7 separate regions of the Homo sapiens genome follow, and all the other regions are linked to region 2. The links are contacts of gene promoters, found by promoter capture Hi-C in blood cells and fetal thymus (Javierre and others, 2016). All regions are on one chromosome and are shown on one strand. Each heading gives the region's core, a stretch centred on a gene start or on the middle of the fragment in contact. The rest is flanking DNA. Distances are from core to core; before and after follow the strand shown.

Region 1 (3,599 bases), core at 723-3,222, 910 kb after region 2:
GCTGCTTCTCATTACGAGGGAATAGGAAGGGGACTTTGTAAGGTTTGGGCTGGCCCTGAGTAATTCTGAAGAGGGGACAAGGGGAAGTGAGTATCATGGCTATAAAGTTGCTTTCATGAAGTGTGGGCAGTTTAGTAATTGGGTACCTTGGTCGCTTTTGTTCAAGATGTAGGAGCCACACAACAGGCTGGGGAGGTTATTGGTAAGAAAGCAGTAATCATAAGTAGGTGGCTGTTAGGACACTTTACAGCCAAGGTGTGACCTGGAGAGAAAGAAAAGATTGTTTTATGTTATAATTGTCTCATTGGTGTCTGTTACGAGAGACTGAATATACAAATAGACAATGGCTGGACCATTTGTACAACTAGAACTCTGACTGACAACCTGCAGAAACCTCCTCAGGAAACCAATTCGTTATCTACAGCAACCAGCCCAGGAAACAAGCCTGCTGTAAGTCATACTTGCAGGAAGCCAGGTGTTATCTCTAGTGACAATCCAGGAGTAACTTTTCTAACAGCCCCCAAAGCCTAGGACTTAATTAATAACTGGCACCCTATCTCTCACCAGATACAAAAATCAACTCAAAATGGATTAAAGACTTAAACATAAGACCTGAAACTACAAAACTACTAGAAGAAAACATAGGGGAAATGCTTCAAGACATTGAACGAGGCAAAGATTTTATGGCTAAAATTTCAAAAGCATAGGCAACAAAACCAAAAATAGACAAATGGGACTATATTAAGCGAAACTAAAAAGCTTCTGCACAGCAATGGAAACAATCAACTGAGTGAAAAGACAACCTTTAGAATGGGAGAAAATATTTGCAAACTATTCATGCGGCAAGGGACTAATATCCAGAATATACAAGGAACTCAAACAACTTGACAGCAAAAAACCACAAATAATCCATTAAAAAGTGGGCGAAGAATCTGAGTAGACATTTCTCAAAAGAAGATGTACAAAAAACAAATAGGTACATATAAAAAAATACTCAATATCATGAGTCATCAGGGAAATGCAAATCAAAACCACAATGAGATACCATTTCACCCCATTTAGAATGGTTATTATCAAAAAGGCAAAAAATAAGGGTGTTGGCGCACCTGCAGTCCCAGCTACTTAGGAGGCTGAGGTGGGAGGATCCATTGAGCCCAGGAGCCCAGCTCCTTAGCTCAAGCTGCGGTGAGCTAAGATCATGCCACTGCACTCCAGCCTGGGTAACAGAGGGAAGCCCTGTCTCTAAAAAAAAAAAAAAGACAAAAAATAAGGTTGAGCGTGGTGACTCAAGCCTATAATCCCAGCACTTTGGGAGGCTGAGGCGCGAGGATTGCTTGAGCCCAGGAATTTGAGAGCAGCCTGGGCAACATAGAGACCTCATCTCTACAAAAAGTAAAAAAATTAGCCAGGTGTGATAGCAGACACCTGTGGTTCCAGCTACTGGGGAGGCTGAGGTGGGAGGATCTCTTGAGTCTATGAGATCAAGGCTGTAGTGAGCAGTGATCATACCACTGCACTCCAGCCTGGGTGACAGAGTGAGACCTCATGTCAAAAAAAATTAGTATATATACACAATAGAATACTATTTGGCCATAGGAAAAAAAAATGAAAATGTCATTTGCAGCAACATAAATAGAGCTAGAGGTCACTATGTAAGCCTGTAATCCCAATACTTGGGAGGCTGAAGTGGGAGGATGGCTTGAACCTAGGAGTTGGAGACCAGCCTGGGCAACATAGTGACCTCATCCCTGTAAATTTTTTTTTAAACAAAAAAACAAAGACAAGTATTGCATTTACTCACTCATATGTGGGAGCTAAACAAATATTCATCTCATTGAGATAGAGACTGGGATGATAGCCACCAGAGGCTGGGAAGGGTGTGTGTTGGGGGAAAGTAGGGGGCTGAAGAGAGGTTGGTTAGCGTGTACAAACATACAGCTAAATAGAAGCAATAATTTCTCATGGGTGTGTGTGTGTGTGTGTGTGTGTGTGTGTGTGTGAGACAGATCTGGCTTGTTGCCCAGGCTGGAGTGCAGTGGTGCAATGACAGCTCACTGCAGCCTCGACCTCCTGGGCTCAAGGACCCCACTTCAGGCCCCTGAGTAGCTGGGACCACAGGTGCACACCACTATGCCCAGCTAATTTTTGTATTTTTTGTAGAAGAAGGATCTCACTATATTGCCCAGGCTGGTCTCCAATTCCTGGGTTCACGTGATCTTCCCAGCTTAGCCTCTCCAAGTGCTCGGATTACGGGTTTGAGCCACCACACCCAGCCTAAATTCTAATGTTCCATAGCAGAGTAAGATGACTATAGTTAATAACAATGTACTGTATATTTCAGAATAGCTAGGAGAGATCTGAAATGTCTCCAACACAAAGAAATAAGTGTTCAGGTGACGAATATCCTAAATACCCTGATTTTATTATTACACATCATATGCATGTATCAAAATATCACATGTATTTTGGCCGGGTGCAGTGGCTCATGCCTGTAATCTCAGCACTTTGGGAGGCTAAGGTGGACAGATCACATGAGGCCAGGAGTTCGAGACCAGCCTGGGCAACATGGTGAAACCCTGTCTCTACTAAAAATACAGAAATTAGCCGGGCGTGGTAGTGGGCACCTGTAATTCCAGCTACTCCGGAGGCAGGAGAATCGCTTGAAACTGGGGGGTGGATGTTGCAGTGAGCTGAGATTGCACCACTGCACTACAGCCTGGGCAATACAGAGTAAGACTCTGTCTCAAAAAAAAAAAAAAAAAAAAAATTAGCCTGGTGTGGTGGTGCATGCCTGTAATCCCAGCTACTTGGGAAGCTGAGGCAGGAGAATTGCTTGAACCTGGGAGGCAGAGGTTGCAGTGAGCTGAAATCATGCCACTGCACTCCAGCCTGGGTGACAGAGTGAGACTCTGCCTCACACACACACACAAATCACATGTACCTCATAAATATGTACAATTATTATGTGTTAGCTGGGTGCGATGGCTCATGCCTATAATCCCAGCACTTTGGGAGGCTGAGGAGGGAGGATTGCTTGAGCCTAGGAGTTTGAGACCAGCCTGGGCAACATAGTGTGACCTTGTCTCAACAAAAATATACTAAAATTAGCCAGGCTTGGTGATGCGTCCTTGTAGTCCCAGCTACTTGGGAGGCTGAGATGGGAGGATTGCTTGAGCCCAGGAGGTTGAAGCTTCAGTGAGCCATGACTGCATCACTGCACTCTAACCTGAAGGACAGAGTGAGACTTTATCTCTAAAAATACAAAAGAAACAAAAAATTATTTGTCAATTAAAAAAAAACTGGCAGCTTTCCTAGTTTTCGGTCCTGCTTCCAGCTTAGGAGCAACCAGAGAAAGACAAATATGTGCCCCTAACCAATCACTTGGGATGCCCTGCCCCTTGCTTCCCCAGGCCAACAGCCTCAAATGAGGACATCCCTGGAGGCTTCCCTTTTTTCACTATAAAGCTTACCCACTCCTCTGCCTGACATTGAGTCTCATCCAAATACAAATGATGGTGGCTGACTCCCTTGTTATAGCAAGCTAACAGCCTTTTTGCTTTTCTCATTTTATTGTCTTTATTCCCAGTTATCACCATCTG
Region 2 (3,302 bases), core at 1-2,500:
CTGCCTGCCACATACTTGTTTGGCTCTTGGGCAAGCCACGTGTCTATACTTTGATTTCCTCTTCTGTAAAGCAGAGATAACATATCCACCCTGTGGGGTTGTTGTACAAAGATAGTGCCTTGTACACTCTAAGCTGCTATCATCCTCTCCTGAGTGGGTCTGGCGCACTACTGATCCCTGGTAATGTTAAAAAATCAAACACAACTGTGGGGGAATACTAGCCCCAGGTTCGTTTGCTCTCTCAACCTCCAAACTAGGGGGCACCCCCAGCTCCCTTACTCTGGGTGTTGTCTCTGTAGCCGCCATTTTTTCTTCTCTTGGTTCCCTTCCTACAAGAGCTTCTCAGTCGTGTTATTTACTCAGGCCTGAGGACAGAGGAGCCTGCGGGCTCCGGGCCTCTTGAGAAGTCAGTCTCGCTCACAGGTGGGACATAGCCCAGGCAGAAGGGCTGTTAGCAAATACGACTTTTTTTTTTTTTTTTTTTGAGACAGAGTCTCACTCTGTCGCCCAGGCTGGAGTGCAGTGGCGCGATCTCGGCTCACTGCAAGCTCCGCCTCCCAGGTTCATGCCATTCTCCTGCCTCAGCCTCCCGAGTAGCTGGGACTACAGGTGCCCGCCACCACCTCCGGTTAATTTTTTGTATTTTTAGTAGAGACGGGGTTTCACCGTGTTAGCCAGGATGGTCTCGATCTCCTGACCTCGTGATCTGCCCGCCTCGGCCTCCCAAAGTGCTGGGATTACAGGCGTGAGCCACCGCGCCCGGCCTACTGCTTATTAATTACCCCTGACCTCTGGTTTTGATTCTCGCAGTGATCCTTTAAAACACGCCTCGCCCTAATTAATAGCACCCTTTACAGAAGAGGAGATGGAGGCTCAGGGAAAGGTCACAAGACCACGAAGTGCCACTGCAAACTTAGAATCCAAAACCAGAAGTGCCATGGAAGCCCTCGCCGCGCCGCGCCGCCCCGCACCTGCAGGCGTCAAGGACGCGGAAGCCTTTGGAGCGCGCCAGGCCTGTGAGGAAGGCCCGGCGGCTGCGACCCATGCGAGGCTCGACCAGGTAGATGGCGACTCCCGGGAAGCGCGTCGAGGGCGGCGTGGAGGAAGCGGCATCGCCGCTAGGGGACCCGACCCGCGCTCGCCGCCGTTTGGGGAGCATTGGGACGACAGCCTCCAGCAGCGCGGAGCGAACGCAGAGGGAAACTCCGAGCGAGACGGAAGGAAGCCCCAGTGAGGCTGACGGAAGCGGGTGGGCGGGCGGGCGGCCGCCGGCTGGAAGAGGACGTGGCCCCGCCCTATGCAAATGAGGCCTCTCCGTGGGGCTCGCTACTTGGGCCAGTCGGAGCGCTGGGGAGGGTCCGGGCTCCTACAGGATTGGGTGTCCCGGCCGCTCCGGAAGACCCGCCTCCATGCAAATAACGGCAGAGGACCCGCCTTTTATTTAAATTAATGTCTCGGAAAGCGCTGTTCGGCCCCATTGGCCTCCGGGAGGAGAGGCTGGGCTGGAGCGGGGCGGGGAGGGTGTTGGAGGGGGTGGAGGAGGCGGGGTCAAGGGGGCGTCCCCGGCTAGGGAGGGTGAACTGGGACCTAGGCCCGGGCGGAGCGGGGTGGGCTGTGTCCTTGGCGCCGGGGCTGGGTCTAGGGTTGAGCCGGCGGCTCGGGGCGGACGCGTGCGGGCTGTGCCCGATCCCTCTGCGCTCGGGACTGTCACACGGAAGCCGGCGGGCGCAGGACCGACACGCGGGTTTCCAATGCGCTGGTGGGGCGGTCGCTTCAAACACGCGGGAAGATTTTTCAGTCGAATGGCATTAGGACAACTGGCAGGCCATTTGGAAAAATAGAAGTTGGTGCCCTTCCTCATTCCTTAACACCAAAATAAATTCCAGATGGGTCAAACATTTCCATCTAAAAAGGAAACCAACAACGTACTGGAAAAAAGTCGGTGAATGTTTTTATGATCTAAATATCACAATAAACTTGGAAACACTAAAGGAAAAGAATGATAAACTGGACTACAGACAAATTTTAAATCTGATTAAAAATTAGAGTCAGAAGATAAACTGGGATAAAGTGTGAGATATTTTGGAATTAAGATTATCTCATGATAATCTTATCAAATTGTCCATAGATAAAAAGACAATAATTTAATAGAAAAATTAGCAAAAAAACTCACGTAGATGATTCTTAGAAGAAATCCTGGTCAATAAATTTATGACCAGAGTGCCCAACCTGTCCAGTCGTTACAGAATACCTAAATGAGAATATCTTCAGTTGTGGGTTTATCAAACATTCAAAAAAATTGACCACACATGTTGAAGGTGCGAGGTAATTGGCAATCCATAGGAAGGACTGTGGAAGCCAATGTGGCAACCACATCCAACAAAATGAAAACAAAATAATACACATTGATCCAGCAATTCCTTTCCCAAGATTGGGATTGCATTGAATCTATAGATCAAGCTGGGGAAATCTGATGTCTTGATAATATCAAGTCTTCTGTCTATCTTATTTAGATATACTCCATTTGTAACCTCTGTTACGGTAGTGTGGCACTGCTCAGCCTAACTGATGGGACACCAGATCAGATGCAACCCCCTTCCACATGCCTCTCCTCATCACTGCCCCATCGTCCTCAGTCTTGAGCCCCAGACTCCTTGAGCACCTATCCTTTTTCTTTGGCTCCTCTCTGACATCTTTAGTGGGCTGGCTCTTCCCCATCTCTGCACTCAGAGCACAGGGCTGAGGGGAGTGGGGGAGATGGCTCAGCCCAGGCATCCTCTTGACCTCCTACACCATCTCCCAGCCTCCTAATTCATCTACCTCTTCAGGGCTGTAGAGCTTCCTGGGCCTCAGGACCCACATACAGAAGCCAGGAGGCCTGCGTATGGTCCCTCTCTCCCCATCCTCCCCTTGTGCCAGCAGGGATGGGCAGGCTCTAAGGGTCTTCGTCTGTGGATCTGGCTCCTACCCTTCTCAAGGAGGAGGCTCTGCCCAAATATCCCCTGAGCAGATCCCTCTAGCTGTCTAAAACCATTTCTGTTCCTTTTAATGTCCTCTGTCTGGCCAGAGCACCTGGGCTCCCCTTGGAGCCCTTGTTCTCTCCTGGGAAGGCAGAGGCAGTTTTTAAGACTATGAGACCTGAATACTTAAAACACTGGGCAACTGTGCAAAAATGTTTGTGCAAGGAATCTCATCCAAATGACAGTGGAAGAAACTGCCTAGCTTAGAAATCAGCCAGGCCCTCTGAGTGGTTGCTGCAAAGTGTCTGCTAGGACAACATGGGGCTGAAGGATTCATGAAGA
Region 3 (3,513 bases), core at 455-2,954, 770 kb after region 2:
TTTGGGAGGCCAAGGCATGAGTCACCAGGGCAGGAGTTTGAGACCAGCCTGGGCAACATGGCAAGACTCCACTTCTACAAAAATTAAAAGAAAAAAATTAGCTGAGTGTGTGGCACATGCCTGTGATCCCAGCTAGTTGAGAGGCTGAGGTGGGTAGAGAACTTGAGCCCACGAGTTCAAGGCTGCAGTGAGCTATGTATGATTGTGTCACTGCTCACCAGACAGGCAACAGAACCAGACTGTATCTCTAAAAAAAAAATTATTCAATGTTGCTGGATTTAACCCAGTAATATATAGTATAATTGTTCTCAAAGTGTGATCCTTAGACCACCAGCATCAGCATCACTTGGAACTTGTTAGAAATGTATTCTCACCACCACCCCAGACCTGCTGAATCTGACACTGAGGGTGGGACCTACAAGCGCTCCAGGGGATTCTGGTGCATACTGAAATTTAAGAACCACTGGTATAGTATATGCTGCAGTGCACAGTCCAGAGCCCACGTATTCCTTATAAAACTGGAGCACTTGGCCAGGTGTGGTAGCTCATCCCTGTAATCTCAGAACTTTGGGAGGCTGAGGTGGGCAGATCACCTGAGGTCAGGAGTTCCAGACCAGCTTGGCCAACATGGTGAAACCCCATCTCTACTAAAACAAAAATTAGCTGGGTGTAGTGGCATGCGCTTGTAGTCCCAGCTACTCTGGGAGGCTGAGGCAGGAGAATCACTTGAACCCAGGAGGTGGAAGTTGCAATGAGCCGAGATGACGCCACTGCACTCCAGCCTGGGCAACAGAGCAAGACTCTGTCTCAAAAAAACAAAAACAAAAAAACTGGAGCACTTATTTAGCTCCTGGAAGTGTTGACTGATCATTACTCAGGGATCTCTACCCAGGAATTGGACTTGGCCAAAGGAAGCTGTATCGCCCAAGTTTACACTCCTTTTTAGGGGGCCTACCTCCAGTGACTGGTGGATGTAGGATATAGTGCCTAGCTCTTTTGCCTTAATTTGAGACAATTCTGAAGGGCCATTCCAGCTCCAGAGTTTCTTGTGTGATTAGTTTTGACTTGATCTAACTGCATTGAAGTTCAACTTCTGCGTAATCCTACTTCCTCTATTTTCTCCTAGTAATGTCCCCAAGAGCATTCCATACTATTACCTCTTGAAAGCAAATCCCATTTGTTTCCTGGGAAACCTGAACTAAGACAATGACTTTTCTCTGCAAAAATGTAGTCAATTTTTGAGTAGGCAAGATATTCACACGTACAAAATTTCAAAATGTACAAAGGGTATACAGTGAAAAGACTCCCCTGGTGCAGTGGCTCATGCCTGTAATCTCAGCACTTTAGAGGTTAAGGCAGGAGGATCGCTTGAGCCCAGGAGTTCGAGACCAGTGTGGGTGACATAGTGAGACCCACATCTCTGTGAAAAATAAAAAAAATAAGCCGGGCGCGGTGGCTCACGCCTGTAATCCCAGCACTTTGGGAGGCCGAAGCAGGCAGATCACGAGGTCAGGAGATCGAGACCATCCTGGCTAACGCGGTGAAACCCCGTCTCTACTAAAAATACAAAATATTAGCCGGGCGTAGTGGCGGGCGCCTGTAGTCCCAGCTACTCGGGAGGCTGAGGCAGGAGAATGGCATGAACCCGGGAGGCGGAGCCTGCAGTGAGCCGAGATTGCGCCACTGCACTCCAGCCTGGGCGACACAGCAAGACTCCGTCTCAAAAAATAAAAAAATTAAGAAAATAAGCCAGGCATGGTGGCGTGCACATGTAGTCCCAGCTACTCAGGAGGCTGAGGGAGAAGGATCACTTGAGCCCAGGAATTTAAGGATGCAATGAGCTGTGATTGTGCCACTGCCTTCCAGCCTGAGTGAGAGCAAGACTCATACACACAGACACACAAACTCCTCCCATCCTTGCCCTTAGTCATCAGTTTCACCTCTGCAGAGGTGTTGCTGATACAGTGAAGTGTGTTAGCATTTAGAGACTTCAGACTTAAAGATTACTATACATAGATTGCAGGAGCTTTTTATCCCTGTGTTCACTTTTAAATTCCATTTTAATGCTGCAGTGCTCTTCAAAATATCACAAAGACTGTAAGAGACAGAAATTTTCTTTTGGCTATTCCTTTTTTTTTTTTTTTGAGACGGAGTCTCGCTCTGTCGCCCAGGCTGGAGTGCAGTGGCGCGATCTCGGCTCACTGCAAGCTCCGCCTCCGAGGTTCACGCCATTCTCCTGCCTCAGCCTCCCGAGTAGCTGGGACTACAGGCCCCCGCTACCACGCCCAGCTAATTTTTTTTTGTATTTTTAGTAGAGACGGGGTTTCACCGTGTTAGCCAGGATGGTCTCGATATCCTGACCTCGTGATCCACCCGCCTTGGCCTCCCAAAGTGCTGGGATTACAGGCGTGAGCCACCGCGCCCGGCCTCTTTTGGCTACTTTTGTAAAGGATAGCCAAATTCTCCTTTTTAAAGTACAGTCATGCATTGCTTACTGATGGGGATACCTTCTGAGAAATGTGTCATTAGGAAATTTCATCATCATGCTCACATTATAGAGTGTACTTACACAAACCTAGATGGTATATATAGCCTACTAGACACCTAGCTATATGGCATAGCCTGTTGTTCCTAGGCTACAAATCTGTACAGCATGTTACTAGTGCTGAATACTACTGTAACATAATGGTAAGTATTTGTATACCTAAACATAGAAAAGGAACAGTAAAAATACAGTATAAAAGATACAAGGCTGGGCTGGGGTGGCTCATGCCTATAATCCCAACACTTTGGGAAGCTGAGGTGGGCAGATCACCTGAGGTCAGTAGTTCGTGATTAGCCTGGCCAACATGGTGAAACCCCATCTTTACTAAAAATACAAAAATTAGCTGGGTGTGGTGGCACATGCCTGTAATCCCAGCTACTGGGGAGGCTGAGGCAGGAGAATCGCTTGAACCTGGGAGGCAGAGGTCGCAGTGAGCCGAGATCGTGCCATTGCACTCCAGCCTGAGCAACAAGAGCGAAACTCTGTCTCAAAAAACAAACCAACAAACAAAAACCCCAAAAAAGATACAAAATAGTACACTTGTATAGGGCACTTACCATAAATGGAGCTTGCAGGACTGGAAGTTGCTTTGAATGATTCAGTGAGTGGGTGGTGAATGAATGTGAAGGCCTAGGACTTTATACTGTATAGTACTGGAGACTATGAACAGTGTGCATAGGCTCCTCTAAATTTATAAAAATATTTTTCTTCAATAATAAGTTAACCTTAGCTTACCATAACTTTTTAACTTTATAAACCTTTACATTAAAAAATTTTTTTGAGTTTTTGTAAAACACTTAGCTTAAAACACAAATACCTTGTATGACTGCACAAAATGTTTTATTTCTTCATATCCATATTCTGTAAGCTTTTTGCTTTTTATTGAGAAGGGATTTTACTCTGCCACCCAGGCTGCAGTGCAATGGCGCAATCTCAGCTCACTGCAATCTTCGCTTCCTGGGCTCAAG
Region 4 (3,473 bases), core at 336-2,835, 730 kb after region 2:
GTGAGCCACTGCGCCCAGCCGATGTTGACTCTTTTAAAAGTTCAGGACAGGCTGGGCGCAGTGGCTCACGCCTGTAATCCCAGCACTTTGGGAGGCTGAGGCAGGTGGATCACAAGGTCAGGAGATCGAGACCAACCTGGCCAACATGGTGAAACACTGTCTCTACTAAAATACAAAAAATTAGCCGGGGGTGGTGGCACGCACCTGTAGTCCCAGCTACTCAAGAGGCTGAGGCAGGGGAATCACTTGAACCTGGGAGGCAGATGCCACTGCACTCCAGCCTGGAGACAGAGCGAGACTGTGTATCAAAGAAAAAAAAAAAGTTCAGGACAGCTGGGCACGGTGGCTCACTCCTGTAATCCCAGCACTTTGGGAGGCCAAGGCAGGTAGATTGCTTGAGCTCATGAGTTGGAGACCAGCCTGGGCAACATAGTGAAACCCCATCTTTACAAAAAATACAAAAATTAGCCAGGTGTGAGCCTGTGGTCACACTGGATGCGAGCCTGTGGTCCCAGCTACTCAGGTGGCTGAGGTGGGAGAATCCCTTGAGCCTGAGAGGTGGAGTTTGCAGTGAGACGTGGAGTTTGCAGTGAGACGTGATTGTGCCACTGCACTCCAGCCTGGGTGATAGAGCCAGACCTTGTCTCCAAAAGAAATAAAACAGCTGGGTGCGGTGGCTCACGCCTGCAATTCCAGGCCGAGGCAGGTGAATTATCTGAGGTCAGGAGTTCAGGACCAGCCTGGCCAACATGGTGAAACCCCATCTCTACTAAAAAATAAAAAATTAGCCGGGCGTGGTGGCACATGCCTGTAATCCCAGCTACTCAGGAGGCTGAGACAGGAGAATTGCTTGAACCTGGGAGGTGGAGGTTGCAGTGAGCTGAGATCGTGCCATTGCACTTTAGGCTGGGCGACAAGAGTAAAACTCCATCTCAAAAATAAATAAATAAATAAAATAAAGAAACAAATAAAACAAAGAGTTCAGGACATTGACTTTGTGGAATGTCCATTATTCTGGAGCTAATTGTTTCCTGTTTTTCTCTTTTAGCTCCTGTATTTTCTGTAAATTGGAAATTACACTAGGCCTAGAAGCTTAATTGGATTCAAATTCATCATATTTAGCAGGAAGATTTCATAGGTGATACTTTGTGTACTTAATCTTGCCTCACATCAGGAGGCACAAAGTCTCAGGCTGACTCATCAGTGAGGCTAAATTTGAACTTGCAGTTAAGGTAATGCCTGCCAGACTGCTCCACTGGAAAGGTATCTTTTCCCTTTTCTGAAAATTAGGTAATCTTGAGGGGTGATATTTTGCCTCTGCATAAAGACCCTCTTTCCAAGAAGAGAGCCTTTTCACCTGATTGTTGTGTTTTGGCATTAATTATATTTGTCTGAATCAATTATTCCCTTTTGCAGTTGTAAAGTACCCTTCTGATCCCTCCCTCCTCCTGTCACTATGGACTTATGTATTTTTATTCAATATATTAAATAATTGTTTTCCCAGTTGCCTTATTTGAATTTACATCCAAATAGGATCCATATATCTATAGAAGTTTGAGCAGAGGAGTGACAGCATTTGCCTAACTTTTTTTTTTTTTTTAGATAGGGTCTTGCTCTGTTGCCAAGGCTGGAATGAACTGATCTCAGCTCACTGCAGCCTCGACCTCCTGGCCTCAGGCGATTCTCCTATCTCAGCCTCCTGGTAGCTGGAACTACAGGCATGTGCCACCCACCACACCTGGCTAATATTAAAAAAAAATTTTTTTGAGACAGAGTCTTGCTTGGTTGTCCAGGCTGGAGTGCACTGGTGTTATCTCAGCTCACTGCAACCTCCGCTTCCCAGGTTCAAGCGATTGTTGTGTCTCAAGCCTCCTAAGTAGCTGGGACTATAGGAGTGAACCACCACGCCCGACTAGTTTTTGTATTTTTAGTAGAGGCAGGGTTTCACCATGTGGGCCAGGCTGGTCTCAAAGTCCTGACCGTAAGTGATCCGCCTGCCTTAGCCTCCCAAAGTGCTGGGATTACAGGTGTGACCCACCACTCCTGGCCAAAAAATTCTTTTAAAATTTTTTGTAGAGACAAGCTTTCACCATGTTGCCCAGGCTGGTCTCAGACTCCTGGGCTGAAGCAATCCGCCTGCCTTGGTCTCCCAAAGTGCTAGGACTACAGGCATGAGCCACCGTTCTTCTTCTTTTTTTTTTTTTTTTTTTTTTTTTGAGACAGAGTCTCACTCTGTCATCCAGGCTAGAGTGTAGTGGCGCAATCTCGGCTCACTGCAGCCTCCACCTCCCGGGTTCAAGTGATTCTCCTACCTTAGCCTCCCGAGTAGCTGGGATTACAGGCGAGCGCCACCACACCCAGCTAATTTTTGTATATTTATTGGAGACAGGGTTTTGGCATGTTGGCCAAGCTGGTCTTGAACTCCTGACCTCAGGTGATTCACCTGACTCGGCCTCCCAAAGTGCTGGGATTACAGGTATGAGCCACTGTGCCCAACAGAGCTACCTTTTTTTTCCCCCCCGAGACGGAGTCTTGCTGTGTCACCCACTCTGGAGTACAGTGGCGTGATCTCGGCTCACTGCAGCTTCCACCTCCCAGGTTCAAGCAATTCTACTGCCTCAGTCTCCCAACTAGCTGGGATTACAGGCGCCCACCACCACGCCCGGCTAATTTTTTGTATTTTTTAGTAGAGACGGGGTTTCGCCATGTTGGCCAGGCTGGTCTTGAACTCCTGACCTCAGGTGATCTGCCAACTTCAGCCTCCCAAAGTGCTGGGATTACAGACATCAGCCACCGCGCCCGGCCTAAGCCACCATTCTTAAAAAGGTCACTTTGACTGAAGTCTGTTGAGGATAGACTATGTGGCGGAGTGAAATCTGGAGACTACTGCATCATCCAGGAGTGAGGAAAGGGGCTTGGGCCAGGATAGTAATGTCAGTGGTGAAAAGTAAATCTGCTTTAATGACAGGATTACTTTAAATGAAAGAGGAGGATATGATGGCTTATGCCTGTAGTCCTAGCTACTCAGGAAGCTGAGGCAGGAGGATTGGTTGAGCCCAGGAGGTCATGGCTGCAGTGAGCCATGATTGCACCACTGCACTCCAGCCTGGACAACAGAGCAAGACTGTCTCAAAAAAAATACGGCAGGGCGCAGTGCTTCACGCCTGTAATCCCAGCACTTTGGGAGGCCATGGCAGGCGGATCACCTGAGGTTGGGAGTTTGAGACCACCAGCCTGACCAACATGGAGAAACCCCGTATCTACTAAAAATATAAAATTAGCCGGGCATGGTGGCACATGCCTGTAATCCCAGCTACTCGGGAGGCTGAGGCAGGAGAATCACTTGAACCTGGGAGGTGGAGGTTGCAGTGAGCCAAGATCGCGCCATTGCACTCCAGCCTAGGCAACAAGAGCGAAACTCCATCTCAAAATAAATAAATAAATAAATAAATAAATATATATACACACACATA
Region 5 (3,454 bases), core at 722-3,221, 800 kb after region 2:
CCTGACTTTTTCTTGTGCCTACCTCAGCAACCCCCAATGTAAAACTGCTTTTATCTTTGAAAATTTTTTGTCAACTTTGAAACTATTTTAGTAACGGATTCTACTCCAAGCATTGCTATCTGAATCCACTGGCATCCTGGAAAACAATTCTGCGAAGAAAAGACATTTGCCTTGGTCCAGGTTCCATGCAAAACCATTTTTTTAAAAAAATGGATCCAATTTGGTTCTGTATTCTTAGATGGCTTCTTGAAATCTTATCTTTAACCTGTTCATGATTATCCCAAGTTGCATTTCTTTTCGTGAACCTGAACCCTCAGAACTGGGTAATTGTAAAGGCCTCTCTTCTCAAGGATTCCATGAAGACCTAGATCCAAAATGCTGATTTCAATGGAGGTGAAGGGATAGACACCGCAACAGTGAGGCCTAGAGAGATCTTTTATGCCAGATTACCCAGGTGCAACCTAAATGCAACTGTTATCAATGGTCTGGGTAACTTGGACATGTTTCTTGCCCTGGATGTGCAAGGATCTATTCCCTCCAGGGATTATCCTGATGGGTTTACGAACCTCAGTTGAGAAACAACAGAAGCTGAGACAATTTTACGCAGGTGAGGAGATGCTGTTTTCCTCTTTGCAGGTTGCTGTCAGTTCCTTGGAACTTGACTGCTTTTCTCAAGTTGTCCGTCACTGTTCTCTTACGATTATTTCTCTTAACTGTGTTACGTTTTGTTTTTTCCCTCTGCGGCCTCCCTTGCTCCCTCTCCACTAGCTCACTGGGGATGAGCAGGAAAGGGAATTCTCTAGCCAAGGGGATGGTGGTTGGGTGGAGGCCTGTAGGGGAAGCTGCCCGTTTCAATCCTCATCCACCTCCTCACCCTCTGACTCTTCGCCGCCGCCGCTGCCCCCACCACGTCGCTCATAAAGCTTATCCCTCTGTCGTTCCTGGATTTCTTTCATCTCATCCGCATACCGGCAAAAGGCGCCTCCGAACTTGCCCCAGGCTTTGAAGGGTACGGTGATGGCATTGCGGTAGGACGGCTTCACCTCGCTCACTCGCAGAAACACCCCGTATTTGTTGCAGCCCACATCGAAGAAGAAGCGCTTGGAGTCCACGGTGATGGAGGTGCCCTCCGGGAGCTCTCCATACAGGCCGCCCCCTGGGCCCCCGGCGCCGCCTCCCGGGCCGCCTGCCAGCTCGTCGTCCTCGCCTCCGTAGTCGTCTATGAGCTTCGCCAGCGCGTCGCGGAACTCGATGAGGCCCTGCGCAGGCAGCGCGATGGTCTGGCCGCTCTGCAAGCCGCCCGGCCCGGGGCCCGCGCCGAAGCCGCCACCGCCGCGGTTGACCGTTTGGCGGATGCGCAGGAAGCGGCCGCGCTGGTTCTCCTTGAGGTCCAGGTAGTACTTGCGGTTCTCACGCACCAAGAATTCGCTCTTGAGCGCGCGCCGCGGCCCGCCGCCCTCCTCGGCGCCAGCCGCCAGCTGCTCGGGGCTGCTAGGGCCCAGCTGCGCGTAGTGTTCTATGAAGTCGCCCAGCGAGTCGCGGAACTCGGCGGCCACCGCCATGGACAGCGTGAGGCGGCTCTTGGAACCGCCCGCGCCCACCTCGGCGATCTTGAGGAAGCGGCCCTTGGCGTTCTGCTTCACATCTAAGTAGAAGCGCTTGTTCTGGATGTCCAGCCGCTTCGAGGCCAGCTCCTGCGTCTCTTGCTCGCCGCCGCCGCGGGACGCGGGCTGGAACCCGCACGGCCCACCGCCGCCGCCGCGCTCGCTGCCGCTGTCGCCGTCCGCCATCTTCTAGGCCGCCGCCTCGCCGCCACCGCCCGCCGCGCTCGCGCCCCCGCCCTCCGGCTCGCGCTCCGGGGCCCCCCAGCCTCGCCCGCCCGGCTCGCTCACGCGCTCCCGCCGCTCATCGCCGGCCGCCGCCGCCCCCCCATCGCCTCCGCGCCCCGCCCCCGCGACTTCCGTGCAGCCCTAGCCACTTCCGGCGCGCGATTTCCCGTGAAGTCACTCCGTCCCGCCCTCCGCGGCCTCGCGGCCGGAAGCGCCGCGGCGGCGTGGCGCAGAGGGGTGACGTCAGGGGCCGCGCCGGGCGGGCGGCAAGCTGAGAGTAGGCTAGTGTTACTGCTCGGTTTCTAGCCCTGGGGACTTGCCAGCCTTAGCGTGACTCAGCCGCCCGCTGCGTCTGTCTACGCGCCTCTTCCCGTGACACTTTTACTTTAGACTCCGGTGTCGTCCACTTCCCTCCTTCTCGCTTCCGGGGCGTTAGCTGAGCATACTCAGGCCCCAGCCTGCTCGCGCTGGTTGTGTGCTGGGAACAGAGTTCCAGTCTATACACTGGCGACCGGGGGGAGGGAGATCCTTTGGAGCACTCGGAAGCGGGTTCTGACCAGCCTGTGGGGTTCCCTAGAGGAGGCATGAGCTGACTCTGAAGGGCAAACTGCAGTTGGCCTGGCAACTCTGGAGAAGAGCCACCCAGCATAGGAGACGGCAGTGCAGAGGCACCCAGGGCCTGATGCTGGGAGCTCAGAGCAGCTGGGGGTGTGTATGCCTGAAGAATGGTCGTAGATGACACTGGAGGGTGGATTAGATCAAGGAAAGCCATTTGCAGTGCGGGAGAGTTAGTGCCTACCCCAGAGTCTGGAGCCACCGTATGTGATCAGGTTCACATTTTGGAAAGATCACTGTGGGAACAATATAGAAAGAAGATGATTTAGGATGAGGTTAGATTTGGGATCCAGAGATCAGTTAACTGTCCCCACAGTTAGCCATATTAAAGTGGTTAAGGAAATTGACTGCCAATCTTTAGTTTCTTTATCAATAAAATGAATAATTCCTATGAGGTCTTTTTGTTGTAAGCATTGAGGTGTAACAAGAGGCAGAATTGGAATAGTGTTAAAAAGTGTAGGCTCTGCAACTGCACTGGGTTTGAATCTGTGACCTTGACCAGTTACTTGATTTTCCAAAGCCAAAATGTCCTCATCCTTAAATTTTTTTTTTTTTTTTTTTGAGTCTTGCTCTGTCACCCAGGCTGGAGTGCAGTGGCGTGATTTTAGCTCATTACACCCTCCACCTCCCGGGTTCAAGCAATTCTCCTACCTCAGCCTCCTGAGTAGCTGGGATTACAGGCAACCGCCACCACACCCGGCTAATTTTTGTATTTTTAGTAGAGATGGGGTTCCACAATGTTGGCCAGGCTGGTCTTGAACTCCTGACCTCAGGTGATCTGCCCGCCTCAGCCTCCCAAAGTGCTGGGATTACAGATGTGAGCCACCACACCCAGCCTAAATGTAGTTATTCATAGATAGTGAATCCAACAATGGACTTGTAAAGAACACAAATAATAGATAACCCAATATAAAAGGTGAAAGATTTTAACAGACACTTCGTCAAAAAAGCCAGTAAGCACATGAAACAGTGCTCAACATTATTCATCATTAGGGAAATATAAATTAAAG
Region 6 (3,216 bases), core at 159-2,658, 900 kb after region 2:
CCCCAGCCTGTGGCCAGTGGCTGCTGCCTCTCCCCTGGCACAGCCTCAGACTTCTTGACCCTTTCCTTCACAAACCTGGTCCCCAGTGGGGGTGGATGTCTGCCCTTCTCTTGACCTTTCTGCCCCTGGGAGGAGGACTGGCAGGCCTGCCCCTCAGACCCATCTCCCCTTGGTGTGTGGTACCCACCCTTCCCTGGATGGCCCTGTCTCCCGGCAGCCTGTCCTGGGTGGGCCTGTCCTGAGGTTCCTCTTTCTCCACCACCTCTGACATGGGTTTTCCTGGGCCTAGCTCCCATCCTCCTACAAGCTGGGGATGAGGGCACAAGTCACCCACGTCTCCAGGGCTCAGTGTTCTCCTCATCAAAATAGAGAGGACAATGTTTCATAAGCTCATTTTATAAGAATGAGGTAGAACAATGTGCACAAAGTGCTTAGCTCACGTCCTGGCTAGCCCTCCTCTTTGAGCCAGGCTCGTGGTCTCTTGCCTTCGGTGCTTAGTGGGGATCCTGGTCCCCAAGCTCTCCCCAGGGAGCTTCCGGAGTACACAGCGAGTGGCCTTCTGCCCCTCCCTGGGAGTCCTGGCAGGAAGCCCAGCTGCCTGTATGGCCACCCTACTGTGCCATGCCCCTACCTCCCGGGCTTCTCCCTGCCCTCCACCTGCCCTCCTTGATGGTAAATTGGGCTCCAATATCACTTCTACCAACTGTGTCCTGTGATACTCCATGTACCCCAGGAGAATGTCACCTCAACTTGGTGGGAATGTTTGGACCCTAGGGTGGAGCCTGACTGCTTCATCTCAGTGTCCCCAGGGCTCAGGCCAGGCCCCATGGATGAGATGCATCGAGGGAGCATCAACAACTGGCTGGGAAGTGGCTGGAGGGAGGTGCCCCTGGTCCCTCCTGGAAAGATAGTGCCTGGTATGTATCTGTCCAAGAAGTGTCATGCCCTGGCCCCGTCGGGCAGGAAAGAAGGGGCAGAAGATGCCTGGACTGTGTGGGAGGCAGGGGTGGGTTGAGGTGGTGGGCAGCTCCGGTGCTGACTTGCCAGCCCTGACAGGGACAGTTGCCTCCTTGTCTGTTCCTGTCCCCTGGGGCCGTGCTTTGAGGCACTCATTTCAGCCCCATCTGGTCTGGGTGGGTGTGTGCCACTGCCCCCTCCCTTGGACAGCAGCGTGCCTTCCTCTTTCCCTCAGGTCTCTGCGAGGACGCAAGGTGGGAGACCCTGGAGGAGGGGAGCCACTGCCTCCTGCCCTGGGCCTACCTGAGCTGCAGGTTCCTCATGAAGTCCTCCATGGTCACTTGGTCCAAAAGCACAAAGTCAGGTTTGCCATACTCAGGGCCTTCCTCGTCCTCCATCCTGCCGGCTGGAAACACCTTGCCTCACCTTCCTGTGCCTGCTGGAAGGACAGTGAAGGAGAGGGGGAGGGAAGGCTAGGGGAGGCCCCACCGCCCCCGCCCTGCCCCACCAGCCTCCTCCAGTGCTGGTGTAAAGTAGGAAGTGGGTTCTAGTCCTGGGAGGGGCTGCCCTCCGCACTTGCCACTCCTTCCCCCTCGAGGTGCTCTAAACCCTGCTTCCTGTCCCTGCGCCCCACAAGGAGGCTGTGCCTAACGGTCTGACCCGTTTGCACGCCAGGGGCGAGGGGCCGGATGCTGGGTCCTCCCCGCTTTGGAGGGTTCTTCGCTGGCCTCCTTCGGAAGCTCCCCTCCACCCACAAGCAGGAGACAAGACTCCGTGGGTTGGCTTCCAACCCTGGCAGCACGTTAGAGTCACTTGTGGGACTTTAAAGAAAGATTTTTTGACGTGATCTTGGTTACCTGGCTGTGTGTGTCTCTCAAGTCAGAACTGAACACTAGATGCAATATACTGTATGTACATTGTACATTAATACAAAAATGAAAAAGGATCCTAATGCCCAGGCCTTTGGGGTGGGGGCAACAGCCTTCTTTGCAGTGTGAAGGCCACACTGGGGTGTAGACGAGCAAAGCTTCTTGTGTGACCTGCCAAGGGCCAGTGGTCCTAGCACTGCAATTCCCCACCCCAGCCACGGGGGAGGGACAGAGGACCCCAGAGCATCCTCTGCATGGGGCTGGCCTTCAGTGGGACCCCTGTGCCCCTAACTGTCCTCTGCCTTGTACTTGTGTCCAGCCGATCCCCCATAAACTGCAGTGAGGACCAGGAACATGCCTGGAGCCCTGTGGCCTCATCTCAGAGCTGCTGTCCCTGCACTTTGAAGATGAGGCAGCGCATTTGGGGAGCGGCTGCATTTAGGGAGTGGCCAAAATCTCCAGACACTGCATTCCTGACACTTAGTGCTCCTGGAAGAAGTGGGAGGGGTGCAGTTCTCTTAGCTTCCAGGCAGACTGGAAAAAGTTCTTTTTCATCCCAGGACAGACTGGGGCAGGTCACACCCATCCTCTAGGAACACTGGGGCGATTCTCTCATCAAAGGTCAAATGGATGCAGTTCTCTCTCATCCTACAAATAGACTGGTGACATTTCTCTTTCACCCCTTCCCTCATACAGGGAGGTCAAAGGGCAGACTCCAGAATTCCCAAACTTCAGTCATTCATGTGCTGCCTTTGAGATTTGTTGTACTCATAAGCACTAGTTTAACTATTGTCTTTCAGTCATCCCATTTTTTAAACTTTGAAGTAATGGATAGGCAAGTTAAGTTTATTTTTTTCTCTCGAATACCTTAAAGCAAATGCATTCCTGATAAAACTGAAAGTACTTATTCAAGTACCTAATAAAACTGAGTCACGCACCACTGCAATAAGGGGCCACTGGCCTGAAAAATCCCCAAATTTGTAAGTGGGCAGCCTCTGGCTCCACCCTGGGCCAGACCTGGGGCTCCTCTTGGGCAAATTCAAAGTCAGTCCTTCGGAACTCTGACAAGTGTGGCCTCCTCCCCACCCCCAGGCTCTTGGGCTGGTGCTTTTGAAGGGTTTCCCAAACCTACACTCAAGTCTGGGAATTCTCACCCAGACTCTTGCCAGCTCATCTGTCTTTTCAAGTTTCACTTCCCCAACCCCCAGGGAGTCAAGCCAACCAGTGGAACCAAGATGGCTGTATTCCAGTAAAACGTTAAGGACACCGAAATCTGAACTTCGCAAACTTTTCATCTGTCACGTAATCATACTATTTTGGGTATTTCCCCCACCACTAACCACTTAAAAATGTCAAGACCACTCTTAGCTCAGAGATTTGGCTGGTGGGA
Region 7 (3,755 bases), core at 37-2,536, 940 kb after region 2:
TGATAGCTCTGTATCAGTTTTTTTTTTTTTTTTTTTTTTTTTTTTTTTTTTTTTTATGAGACAGAGTTTTGCTCTTGTTGCCCAGGCTGGAGTGCAATGGCACAATCTTGGCTCACTGCAACCTCTGCCTCCCAGGTTCAAGTGATCCTCCTGCCTCAGTCTCCGTAGTAGCTGGGGTTACAGACATGTGCCACCACGCCCTGCTAATTTTGTATTTTTAGTAGAGTTGGGGGTTTCTCCATGCTGGTCAGGCTGGTCTCGAATTCCCGACATCAGGTGATCCTCCTGCCTTGGCCTCCCAAAGTGCTGGGATTACAGGCATGAGCCACCGCACCCGGCCTCTGTATCAGTTTTGAATTTAGTTCTGGGTGTTTTCCTTACACCTAAAGTGTGGACTTTTTGGATTTCTACTGAGTAGCCAGTTCAGCAAAGTCTCTTCAGCTGATTATAATGTTCAGGAAAGACTCTTCAGCTGATAATAACTTCTGGCATCACCATTCAGCAGTCAGTCAAACATTAAATGATTACCTGTAGGCATTGTGGAGTTTCATCTCTGCATGTCCAGGCCAGCCCTTAGTCAAGGCCCAAGAAACATGTTTTTATCGTCAAGAACTTCTAGGCTCTTAGTTTACATAATGGAATCTTACAGATTTTCCTTTGTTTGCTTGCTGAACACTGTCATTGTCACCCTGGGATTTCTTTTCTCTGCTTCCTGGGTTGGTTCCACTGTTTCTTGGAGTCCACATCTTTTTCTCTCTTGGATGATCCTCGTTTTGCTGGGAGTAGATCCTCTAGTATGTTTTTCAAAAGGGGGTTTTTAGAGTGTAAAGATCCCAAGGCACTGCAGGTGTGAAAATAACTATTTTGCACCTTGATTGACAGTTTGGTTTTAAATTAACTTCCAGATTTAAATTAATTTCCACACAGAATTTTAAAGGGATTACCATATTCCCATTTATCAGGATACATCTGATGCTGATCTGAGTCTTACTGCTTTTACAGGTACTTTTTTTTGCATTTTCTTATTGGAAACCTAAGATTCTCTTGAAATTCTGCAGTTTTGTGAAGATGAGTCTAAATGTTGAGGGTTTGTCTCTTACATTCAGCCTACTTGTTACTGTGCTTTTTCTGTCCATAAAATTGAGTTCATCGTTGTTGTCTTCTGATATTTGTGTCCCTCTTTGATTCTGCCTGCTCTTATTCTCCTCTTAGGAAACTGTTAGACTCGATGGACCCAGCTTCTGTGGCCTTTAATTTTTCTCATGTTAAACTTTTTACCTTTTCACTTTATGTTCTAAGACAGGGTTGGCAAACTTCATGTAAAGGACCAGACAGTAAATATTTCAGGCTGTGTGGGCCAGGGGGCAAAATTGAGGCCATTAAGTAGGTACTTATATAAGAGAGAAAGCAAATTTTCGTAAATTTTTTTATTGATGAAATTCAAGGTATAATAATTGAGTACAATTTTTTGTAATATGGTTCTACTACTGAGAATGGAATTCTTTTTGGGGGCTAACATTTTGCTTAATCAGGGTTCAAAGTTGGTGATTCCCTTTATCGAATTGGTGGCAAATGTTCATCTGTAAAACATTTGCAGCTGTGGCCATCAGCAGCAGGCAGGCATTGGCCAACCCCGCAGTTCTCCTTCACATCATTCTTTGGGCTCTCCGCTATGTCCTTGTTATTATTCTACGAATTTTTTATTTTGGCAGTCATATTTGTAATTTCTAAGATATATTTCTTGTTCTCTGTTCTCTCTTTTTCTTTTTTTTTTTTTTTTGAGATGGAGTTTCACTCTTGTTGCCCAGGCTGGAGTGCAATGGCGTGATCTCACCTCACCGCAACCTCCGCCTCCTGGGTTCAAGTGATTCTCGTGCTTCAGCCTCCCGAATAGCTGGGATTAACAGGCATGCGCCATCACGCCCAGCTAATTTTGTGTTTTTGGTAGAGACGGGGTTTCTCCATATTGGTCAGTCTGGTCTCAAACTTCTAACCTCAGGTGATCTGCCCACCTCAGCCTTCCAAAACGCTGGGATTACAGGCGGGAGCCACTGCACCCGGCCGTTTTCTCTTTTTCATAGCTATCTAGTCTTATTTTATGGATGCAGTTCTTCTCAAGTGTCTCTAAGTATACTAGCTAGAATGTAGGTTCCTGTGCCTGTCTCTTCCCATTTGTTCTTTGGCTTTTCTCTCTCATGCTGACCGTGGGGATCACTGTGTTTGTGAGGGAAGGTTGGGGTTGACTAGTGTTCAGAGCATGTGGGTTTTCTTTTTAGTCATGTCTATTTCCCTGGAATCCTTCCCCTCCCTGCAGTAGCCAAAATAGAGGTGAGGCTGCTCAGCTGAGTGGCACCTCTTTCTGTATCTCCCTCCTGGTTTGCCTTTTTCCCTTTGAGCCTACCTGAAGGTCAGGGTCAGCTGGTTCTGCCCTGTATAGGCAACTTTTAGGAAGGAGCAATCTGAAATTGTGACTCTACTCTGGTTTTTAAAGACAGAAAGTGACAGTCCAGTTAATACCGGATATTGACTCAAATCTAGTTCTGATGCTGCTTTTCCAACTTTATGACAGTTTCTACATCTGTGGTATATGGAATAATAATTGAAGCACTAAATTTTATTCTGAAGCAATCAGTCTTTTTGGAATCAGGAAATATTAAACTTTATTTGTTACAGGTTAATGAAATAGAATTGTATGAAAGTACCATTTTTATAGCCAAAACACTGTTGAAAATCAGCACTTTGATTTGGTTCAACCTAATATTTAAAAAATTATATTGTAATTGTTATGTTTATTTATTGATCTGTGAATATAGTCACTCTAACCAGATTTTTTTTTTTTTTTTTTTTTTTGAGATGGAGTCTCACTCTGTTACCCAGGCTGGAGTGCAATGGTGCTATCTTTTCTTACTGGAACCTCTGCCTCCCAGGTTCAAGCGATTCTCCTGCCTCAGCCTCCCAAGTAGCTGGGATAACAGGTGCCCATCACCACGCCCGGCTAATTTTTCTACTTTCAGTAGAGACGGGGTTTCACCGTGTTGGCCAGGCTGGTGTCGAACTTCTTACCTCAGGTGATCCACCTGCCTCAGCCTTCTAAAGTGCTGGGATTACAGACATGAGCCACCGCACCCAGCCAACCAGAATATTTAATTAAGTAGCCCTCCCTATTTGCAAGCCATTCTGGAATTATCAGAGTTCTAAGAGCCTTCACCAGCAACAGATCCAACTTCTGCTTTTCTAGATTAGGAAATTTGCCTTGAAGAAGTGAGCTTGGCCAGAGGCACGCTGTTTAATTTCAAAGTGCTGCTGACTCAAACTCATGAGTCCTGGAGGCAGGTAGAGGCACTTGTAGGCTGAGGACCCGTAGAGCCCGGTGTGCCCTGCCCAAGCCCCACCTGGGAATGGAGTTATCTCTGTAAAGATCTTGCTGCCTTTGAGCAAGCACTGCAAATGGGGTAACTGGAACAGCCTTGTCGCGTGTTTCCACCCTTCGTATGAGGCAGGTACCATGGGTCTTCACCAACAGCACGGCCTGTTGTCTCCAGGAAATGGTAGCCCCTCACAGTGCTTTCTGTCTGCTTGTTTAGCTTTGGCATTTGAATGTGCAGAATGGTGGACTTTGAAATTAATGTCCTTCTGTTGACTGCAGAATTTCTGCTGGAAATGCAGGGAGGCTGCTTGTGGGGTTCGCGTGCTGTGGGAAGTAGGGAAAATGAGCTGGTTTACTTTGTGTCTTTTTGTGCATGCAGACTGTTTGG

Evidence for each region. The method cuts DNA at HindIII sites, captures the fragments that hold promoters and counts their contacts. A CHiCAGO score of 5 or more calls a contact.
Region 1: a fragment that was not itself captured here is called in contact with the fragment with the promoter of POLM in region 2 in 1 of 17 cell types (naive B cells); the score reaches 5.3 in naive B cells.
Region 3: a contact is called between a fragment that was not itself captured here and the fragment with the promoter of POLM in region 2, in 2 of 17 cell types (neutrophils and monocytes). The highest score is 6.8, in neutrophils.
Region 4: a contact is called between a fragment that was not itself captured here and the fragment with the promoter of POLM in region 2, in 1 of 17 cell types (non-activated CD4 T cells). The highest score is 5.2, in non-activated CD4 T cells.
Region 5: the fragment with the promoter of PURB here is called in contact with the fragment with the promoter of POLM in region 2 in 4 of 17 cell types (fetal thymus, neutrophils, monocytes and 1 more); the score reaches 7.9 in fetal thymus.
Region 6: a contact is called between the fragment with the promoter of MYO1G here and the fragment with the promoter of POLM in region 2, in 3 of 17 cell types (monocytes, fetal thymus and total B cells). The highest score is 11.4, in monocytes.
Region 7: a fragment that was not itself captured here is called in contact with the fragment with the promoter of POLM in region 2 in 2 of 17 cell types (monocytes and total B cells); the score reaches 7.3 in monocytes.

Annotation. Positions count from the first base shown.
Region 1 is chr7:44,994,883-44,998,481 of GRCh38, forward strand. LOC102723334 (a long non-coding RNA gene) reads right to left here. Exons shown (of 4, transcript XR_428139.4): 3 at 147-262. Among named protein-coding and RNA genes, the nearest start is that of CCM2, 3.5 kb to the right of the region's middle. RefSeq lists enhancers at 48-97, 178-227, 268-327, 348-397. The HindIII fragment of the contact is 2,431 bases long and covers 758-3,188 here.
Region 2 is chr7:44,081,280-44,084,581 of GRCh38, forward strand. POLM (DNA polymerase mu) reads right to left here and starts at 1,251. Exons shown (of 11, transcript NM_013284.4): 1 at 972-1,251. The coding sequence starts at 1,159. RefSeq lists an enhancer at 1,025-1,525 and a silencer at 1,237-1,816. The HindIII fragment of the contact is 8,170 bases long and covers 1-3,302 here.
Region 3 is chr7:44,851,693-44,855,205 of GRCh38, forward strand. No RefSeq gene overlaps it. Among named protein-coding and RNA genes, the nearest start is that of H2AZ2-DT, 5.0 kb to the left of the region's middle. The HindIII fragment of the contact is 3,414 bases long and covers 1-3,411 here.
Region 4 is chr7:44,810,054-44,813,526 of GRCh38, forward strand. No RefSeq gene overlaps it. Among named protein-coding and RNA genes, the nearest start is that of PPIA, 15 kb to the left of the region's middle. The HindIII fragment of the contact is 991 bases long and covers 1,091-2,081 here.
Region 5 is chr7:44,883,559-44,887,012 of GRCh38, forward strand. It overlaps PURB (purine rich element binding protein B), which reads right to left and starts at 1,972. Exons shown (of 1, transcript NM_033224.5): 1 at 1-1,972. The coding sequence starts at 1,790. The coding sequence ends at 852. RefSeq lists enhancers at 1,044-2,003, 2,152-2,401 and silencers at 1,462-1,511, 1,802-2,161. The HindIII fragment of the contact is 4,558 bases long and covers 922-3,454 here.
Region 6 is chr7:44,977,607-44,980,822 of GRCh38, forward strand. MYO1G (myosin IG) reads right to left here and starts at 1,409. Exons shown (of 22, transcript NM_033054.3): 1 at 1,261-1,409. The coding sequence starts at 1,355. RefSeq lists a silencer at 1,352-1,441 and enhancers at 1,642-1,711, 1,742-1,791, 3,019-3,148. The HindIII fragment of the contact is 4,854 bases long and covers 1-1,982 here.
Region 7 is chr7:45,023,771-45,027,525 of GRCh38, forward strand. All of the region lies in intron 1 of CCM2 (CCM2 scaffold protein), which reads left to right. Among named protein-coding and RNA genes, the nearest start is that of CCM2, 25 kb to the left of the region's middle. RefSeq lists a silencer at 3,327-3,396. The HindIII fragment of the contact is 9,674 bases long and covers 1-3,755 here.